2 separate regions of the Homo sapiens genome follow, and region 2 is linked to region 1. Evidence: promoter capture Hi-C in human tissues and cell types (Jung and others, 2019). All regions are on one chromosome and are shown on one strand. The core of a region is centred on a gene start or on the middle of the fragment in contact, and the rest is flanking DNA. Distances in the headings are between cores, read along the strand shown. Region 1 holds the start of MAP3K10 (mitogen-activated protein kinase kinase kinase 10). Region 2 has its middle 24 kb from the start of ACP7.

Region 1 (3,718 bases), core at 480-2,979:
CAGGACAGCCCCTACAACAATGATCTGGCCTCAAGTGCCAATAGTGCTGGGGTTGAGAGACACTGACTCCAGACGGGGTAGGCTCTTTTTGTCTCTGCCTGGTGGACTCTGGCAGCATGGCTGGATGGCAAGCACCTTGAAGGCAGGCACTGCATCTGTCCTGTTCATGCAGGGAACGCAGGTGTTCATGGATACATGTTTACTGAGCGATTGTGACTCTGCAGCCTGGGAGGCAGGTAAGTCCTTCAACCTTTCTGAGCCTCCTTTTTCTCCCTTAAGGCAGGCAAGGCCTACCTCACCTTCACCCTGAAGGTATCATACTGCTGCCCCTTCTCACTCCAGGCACAGTGTCATCTGGTGTCCCTCACCCTGTTTCCCACCACCTAGGCCTGGCCTTGAGAGGTTCTGTGGAAGGAATTTTGGGGAGAGGACACCACTTACTGTTGATGGACTTGAGGTCCCGGTGGATGATGGGCACAGGGGCATCATTGTGTAGGTAGTTCATGCCCCGGGCCACCTGCACAGCCCAGTTGACCAGCACGTGAGGTGGCACCCGGCGACCTGCCAGCACCCTGCTCAGTGCACCACCCCGGGCATACTCCATCACTAGGCAGAGGTGTGGGGGGTTGAGGCAGGCGCCCCTAAGGGCAATTATGTTGGGGTGCTGCAGGGCTCCAAAGAGCCGGGCTTCCTGGCACACCTGCTCCGCTGTCACTGCCGGGTCCTTCTCAGGGTCCAGCCGGGCGGCCTTGACTGCCACCTCCTCGCCACGCCACAGGGCCCGATAGACCTTGCCAAAGCCCCCCACACCGATGATCTCCTCTAGCTGCAGCTCGTGGAAGGGGATCTCCTGGGGCAGCTGGAGGCCCGCGGGTGCAGCGGGGGCGCCGGGGGCCACGTAGTTGCTGGGGAAGACGCCCACGCGGCCGCTGGGGAGCTGCCCGGTCCACCAGCCCTCGTCGCCGGACACCGCACAGTCTTGGGAAAGCACCTGGACGCGATCGCCCCTCCGCAGGGTCAGCTCCTCGTCGCCCGCCGCCTCGTAGTCGAACACCGCGGTCCAGACGGGCCCCGCGGGGGTCGTGCCCCACTCCTTGGCCACCGCCCCCTCCTCCTCCTCCATGGGGGAGGGGCCGGGGGCTGCGGGAGGCCGCTTCACACAGGCTGCCCGCGGGATGCAGAGGGCGGGCCCCGGCGGCCGGGATGGAGGGCAGTCCCTGCGGGGTCTAGGGAGCTCCTGAGGGCCATGGCTGGGGCGCCCTCCGCAGGAGCAAGAAAAAAAACCCTTTCAAAGGGCAGGCTCGTCCCTTCCGATTTGGCTGTACGGGCGGGGCGGGGCGGGGTGGGAGTGGGGCGGCAGGTTCACCCGTGCCCCCCAAACGGCAGAGGGCTAAGAGGGCCTGGCCGCGCGGCTCTCGAATGCCCGCCGGGGTCCGCCGGTGGGGGACGAGGGCGAGGGCGGCAGGCAGTCCCCGTTCCCCGCGCCGCTCACCCCGCGCAGCTCCACCGGCGGCCCCCGGCTCCGCATCCCGGGCCACGACTGCCGGGCCGGGCGGGGGTGGCGGGGCCCCTGGGGCGGCCGCCCCGGGCCGGGGTGGCGCGCCCCTCGGCCTCCTCACGCGCGGGGCAGCCGGGCGGCCCCCATCCTTGGCACCGGCCTCCCGGTCGGCCCCAGCCCCTGCCCCCCGCCCGTGCTGCTTCCCCGGGCCACCGGCGGGGCCCGAGTGACGTGTGGGCGCCGCCGCCGCGGTGCCTCCTGGGAGTTGTAGTCTCCGGCCGTGCGGCCTCGGGGCCCGGCTCTCAGCGCCCTCCAGCAGAGCCCCGCGGCCAGCCTCGGGCCGCAATGGACATGACACCCCACGAAGCCGAAGGAGTCCTCCCGGGGAGATGAGCCCGGCCTCGGCCCCTCCTTCGGACGCGGCGTAGCGGGCGCCCGGGGCGGGGGGAAGCGCTCCTCACAGACCCTGTGGGGGCCGCGGCCCAGGATGGGTTGGACTGCAACGGACGCGATTAGCAACGCGAAAAATAGGAGCTGCGTGCATGACTGTGACTGCCCGGAGCCGCGAACGCAGCCTGGACCTTATCCCTGAGGCAGGACGGCCCCTCGGACCCCCCGACCGAGATGTACGCTGGGAACTGTAGTCCGCGCGGGGACCTGGCGCTGCAGGGGGCGGCCCCCAAACAGCGGGCTGCGGGCGTCGGCGGGTGGTTGGAGCAAGTTAGGGGTCGGGCCGGTGGCGGGACTCTGCGGGGAAGATGGGGCTGGGAGGATGTGTTTAGTGTCCCTGGGGATGTCACAGCCACGTCTGCTTTCCCCACCAGCTCTGGGTTCCTCTGCTGAAGTCAGAACTCCTGCTCTTGAGAATCCCCGATTCCTATTTTATAGGAGTTTCAATTTCGGGGAGCTTAATGTGCATGTTGTATTCAGTGCTTTGTACACGTGGTATCGTTAAGTCTTCACAAAGAGCCCCATTTTACAGATGACTCATAGAGAAGTGAAGTCATTTGTGCAAGGCTACAGAGCTATAAATGGCAAAGCAAAAATGAAAGGCAGTTTTAAAAATTAACAACCAGGCCGGGCGCGGTGGCTCACGCCTGTAATCTCAGCGCTATGGGAGGCCAAGGCGGGCGGATCACGAGGCCAGGAGTTCGTGACCAGCCTGGCCAGCATGGTGAAACCCCCGTCTCTACTATTTAAAAAAAAAAAAAAAAATTAGCCGGGCGTGGTGGTGTGCGCCTGTAATCTATCCCAGCTACTCGGGAGGCTGAGGCAGGAGAATCGCTTGAACCTGGGAGGTGGAGGTTGCAGTGAGCCAAGATCACGCCACAGCACTCCAGCCTGGACGACAGGGCAAGACTCCGTCTCAAAATAAATAAATAAATAAATAACCATCGCCACGATTAACAAAAACAACAACAACAAAAAAAAAAACAACAAAAAACAAACAAACAAAAAACCCACTGCCTTTCTATTTAAAGAATGAGGAAAGTAGGTCCCGCAGAGGTTCAGTGACTTCTTCAAGATCTCTAAGCTTGTAAGAGGCAAAATTCTGGGTCTTTTTACTTGGCCTCTCCTGAGTGGTATGGGGTCTAGAGGGAGGAGAGAAGAAGAGGAAATAAGAGGGACTCTAGTGCCCAAACTCCAGAGAACTGCCCCTCAGGGTCCTTGGGGAATTGTTCCATTGTCAGAGGGAAGTGGGTTACCTGGTCTCCTGGCTACCTAGCAGGGACACTCGGAGCATATCAAAAATGCTTGTTGGAAGAGAGAGCCCCAGCTTCATTCTGAGTATAAGTGTTTCTGCTATAACCTGCTATATGCATTCTTAAAAAACCTTCAGTTCTTCAAAACGGTGCACTAAAATTAACAAGACTTCATGGAAAAAATAGAGTTAGAGACAGATTGCTCAAAATATATGCAACTAGCTGGGCACGGTGGCTCATGCCTGTAATCCCAGCACTTTCAGAGGCCGAGGAGGGAGAATTACTGGAGTCCAGGAGTTTCAGACTAGCCTGGGCAACATAGGGAGACTCCGTCTCTACAAAAAAATAAAAAATTAGGCGGGTGTGGTGGTGTGCACCTGTGTTCCCAGCTACTCGGGAGACTGAGGTATAGGGGTATTACCTGAGCCCAGGAGGTCGAGGCTACTGTGAGCTGTGATTGTGGCACTGACTGCACTCCAGCCTGAGAGACAGAGCGAGACCCTGACTCAAAAAAAAA
Region 2 (3,718 bases), core at 806-3,305, 1.1 Mb after region 1:
GGCTGGGTGTAGTGGCTCATGCCTGTAATTCCAGCATGTTGGAAGGCCAAGGCAGGAGGATTGATGGAAGCCAGGAGTTCAAGACCAGCCTGGGTAACATAGCAAGACCCCATCACTACAAAAAAAAAAAATGTTTTTTAATTAGCTGGGCACTGTGGCGTGTGCCTGTAGTCCAAGCTACTTGGGAGGCTGAGGTGGGAGGATCACTTGAGCCCAGGAGGCCGAGGCTACAGTGAGCCAAGATTGCACCACTGCACTCAAGCTTGGGTGACAGTGTGAGACCCTATCTCTAAAAAAGAAAAAAAGAAAACACAGAGCTATTCACATAACAAATGTTTTGTGTACCACCTAAATGTGTCAAATCTCACTAGCATATTCCACTCTTTGGGAAATGCTGTCCTAAGTGGAAATTAGTGACAATTTCCAGAGAGATCTCAGCATCTTTGAACAAGCAACATCTTGGAGTCACCTGTCAATCAGACCACTGGGCTCAGCTTCCCAGAGATCTGTAGCATGGGGTAGGGAAAGAGGCCTTGTTGGAGAGAATACTGGCTTAGGGGGCTCAGGAGTGGGAGACAGGCCTGAAAAAACACTAGTAAAGATAGCCCATGTTCAGAAGTCTCAGAAACCCCCCAGTGCTTTCAGGAGAACATTTCACACACACACACACACACACACACACACACACACACACACACTCCACATATGAATGCTTTGGGCTGCAAGTAACAGGAAACCCACAGAAGATGTGTAGTCTGTCCAGATGCTCACTGATGTCATTGGCATCCTGGGTTCCCGTTTCTCTGCTCTGCAATCTCTATCTAGTTTTATCTTCATCCTGAAGATAAGGTTGTAAGTGAAAGGCTGCCAACACCACTGCAACACGCTTTCTTGTTTGAGTTCAGCAGAGGCAAGGGAGAGAGAAAGACAGAATGAGAGAGAGAGAGAAGCTGTCTTTCTGCGGGACTCCCTCAAGAGAGCGGAGGGAGCTGTGGGGTGTTTGAGGGGAATTAACAGTAATGATACTGATCAACAGTCACATGCTACTTTCTGTGCTACAAGCACTGCTCTTAGCCTTCCCATGTGCCCTATTACACCAACTCTAAGGTGCTCTGTGCATAAGAGCCATCTTAGAAAGAAAAAAATAAAGCAGCCAGGTGCAGTGGCTCACACCTGCAATCCCAACACTTTGGGAGGCCGAGGCAGGTGGATCACCTGAGGCCAGGAGTTTGAGACCACCCTGACCAACATGGTGAAACCCTGTCTCTACTAAAAAGACAAAAATTAGCTGGGCATGGTGGCAGACACCTGTAATCTCAGCTACTCAGGAGACTGAGGCGGGAGGATTACTTGAACCCGGAAGGCGGAGGTTGCAGTGAGCCGAGATCGTGCCACTGCACTCTAGCCTGGGCGACAGAGGAAGACTCTATCTAAAAAAAAAATAAAAATAAAAATAAAAAAGGCCAGGCGCAGTGGCTCACGCCTGTAATCCCAACACTTTGAGAGGCGGAGGCAGGTGGATCACCTGAGGTCAGGAGTTCGAGACCAGCCTGACCAACATGGAGAAACCCCATCTTTACTAAAAATACAAAATTAGCCGGGCGTGGTGGCACATGCCTGTAATCCCAGCTACTCAGGAGGCTGAGGCAGGAAAATTGCTTGAACCCAGGAGGCAGAGGCTGCAGTGAGCCAAGATTGCGCCACTGTACTGCAGCCTGGGCAACAAGAGTGAGACTCCATCTCAAAAAAAAAAAAAAAAAAGGAAGCAAAAAAGACCACTGTTGATTAAACCACAACAGATCATCTATTTTAACACCCATCCCAATTCCGTGGATCCATGAAATACCCCATACTAGCTCATTTGGTCCTCTCCACAACCCTATGAGATAGGTAGCATTATCATCCCCATTTTATACAGGGGGAAACTGAGGTCAGAAAGACTGAGTGGCATGCTCAAAGTCCCCCCAGTGAGCCAGAGGTGGAGCCAGGATTTGAACTCGGGCAGTCTGGCAGCAGAGCCCTGACTCTTATCTGCTCTCCACACTGCCTCTCTGCTTCCAGTCTGATTTTGGAGAAGTAGACCCAGGAATCACACAGACAGCTAGAAATATCCGCCTATTGGCATATGAAAAGGGGCTCAACATCGCTGATCATTAGAGAGATGCAAATCAAAACTACAGTGAGATATATCATCTCACCCCAATTAAAGTGCCTTATATCCAAAAGACAGGCAATAACAAATGCTGGCAATGATGTGAAGAAAAGGGAACCCTCGTACATTGTTGGTGGGAATGTAAATTAGTACAACCACCGTGGAGAACAGTTTGGAGGTTCCTCAAAAAACTAAAAATTGAGGCTGGGCGCAGTGGCGCACACCTGTAATCCCAACACTTTGGGAGGCCAAAGCAGGTGGATCCCTTGAGGTCAGGAGTTCAAGACCAGCCTGGCCAATGTGGTGAAACCCCGTCTCTACTAAAAATACAAAAATTAGCCAGGCGTCATGGTGCATGCCTGTCATCCCAGCTACTCAGGAGGCTGAGGCAGAAGAATCAGTTGAACCTGGGAGGCAGAGGTTGCAGTGAGCAAGATCACACCACTGCACTTGAGCCTGAGGGACAGAGCTAGACTCTGTCTCAAAAAAAAAAAAAAAAACAAAACACCTAAAAATTTGAGCTACCATATGATCCAGCAATCCCACTGCTGGGTATATACCCCATAGAATGGAAATCAGTGTATCTGTTAAGGAAATATCTACACTGACATGTGTATTGCAGCACTGCTCACAGTAGCCAAAATTTGGAAGCAACCTAAGTGTCCATCAGCAGATGAATGGATAAGGAAAATGTACATATGCACAGTGGAGTACTATTTAGCCATAAAAAAGAATGAGATCTAGTCATTTGTAACAACATGAATGGAACTGGAGACCATTATGTTAAGTGAAATAAACCAGGTTCAGAAAGACAAACATCACATGTTCTCACTTATTTGTGGGAGTTAAAAATCAAAACAATTGAACTCATGGACATAGAGAGGCTGGGAAGGATAGTGGAGGTTGGGGGGAGGAGAGGATGGTTAGTGGGTATAAAAAAATAGAAATAATGAATAAGACCTACTATTTGATCACACAACAGGGCGCCTATAGTCAATAATAACTCGCCTATTTAAAGATAACTGAAAGAGTATAATTGGATTGTTTGTAACACAAAGGATAAATGCTTGAGGGGATGGATGCCCCATTCTCCAGGATGTGATTATTATACATTCCATGCTTGTATCAAAACATTTCATTTACCCCATAAATAAGTACACCTACAAAAATTAAAAATTAAAAAAATATATATCAGCCTGTTGGTAAAGGCTTAGCTGGGTGGCCGCAGCGGGCTTCCCAACACCCCCAAATTGAACTTACCATCTAAAATGGAGGCTCCTTGGCCAGGTGCAGTGGCTCATGCCTGTAATCCCAACACTTTGGGAGGCCACGATGGGCCGATCACCTGAGGCCAGGAGTTCAAGACCAGCCTGGCCAACATGGTGAAACCACGTCTCTACTAAAAATACAAAAACATGTGCTGTGTCCACTCAGGGTTAAATGGATTAAGGGCGGTGCAAGATGTGCTTTGTTAAACAGATGCTTGAAGGCAGCATGCTCGTTAAGAGTCATCACCAATCCCTAATCTCAAGTAATCAGGGACACAAACACTGCGGAAGGCCGCAG

The links. The method cuts DNA at HindIII sites, captures the fragments that hold promoters and counts their contacts. A contact is called where the count stands out against the background at its distance.
Region 2: a contact is called between a fragment that was not itself captured here and the fragment with the promoter of MAP3K10 in region 1, in 1 of the 25 tissues and cell types used here (pancreas).

Annotation. Positions count from the first base shown.
Region 1 is chr19:40,189,437-40,193,154 of GRCh38, reverse strand. MAP3K10 (mitogen-activated protein kinase kinase kinase 10) reads right to left here and starts at 1,729. Exons shown (of 10, transcript NM_002446.4): 1 at 442-1,729. The coding sequence starts at 1,123. RefSeq lists silencers at 1,032-1,331, 1,602-2,101 and an enhancer at 2,262-2,501. The HindIII fragment of the contact is 11,839 bases long and covers 1-3,718 here.
Region 2 is chr19:39,058,677-39,062,394 of GRCh38, reverse strand. No RefSeq gene overlaps it. Among named protein-coding and RNA genes, the nearest start is that of ACP7, 24 kb to the left of the region's middle. RefSeq lists an enhancer at 3,389-3,718. The HindIII fragment of the contact is 6,146 bases long and covers 1-3,718 here.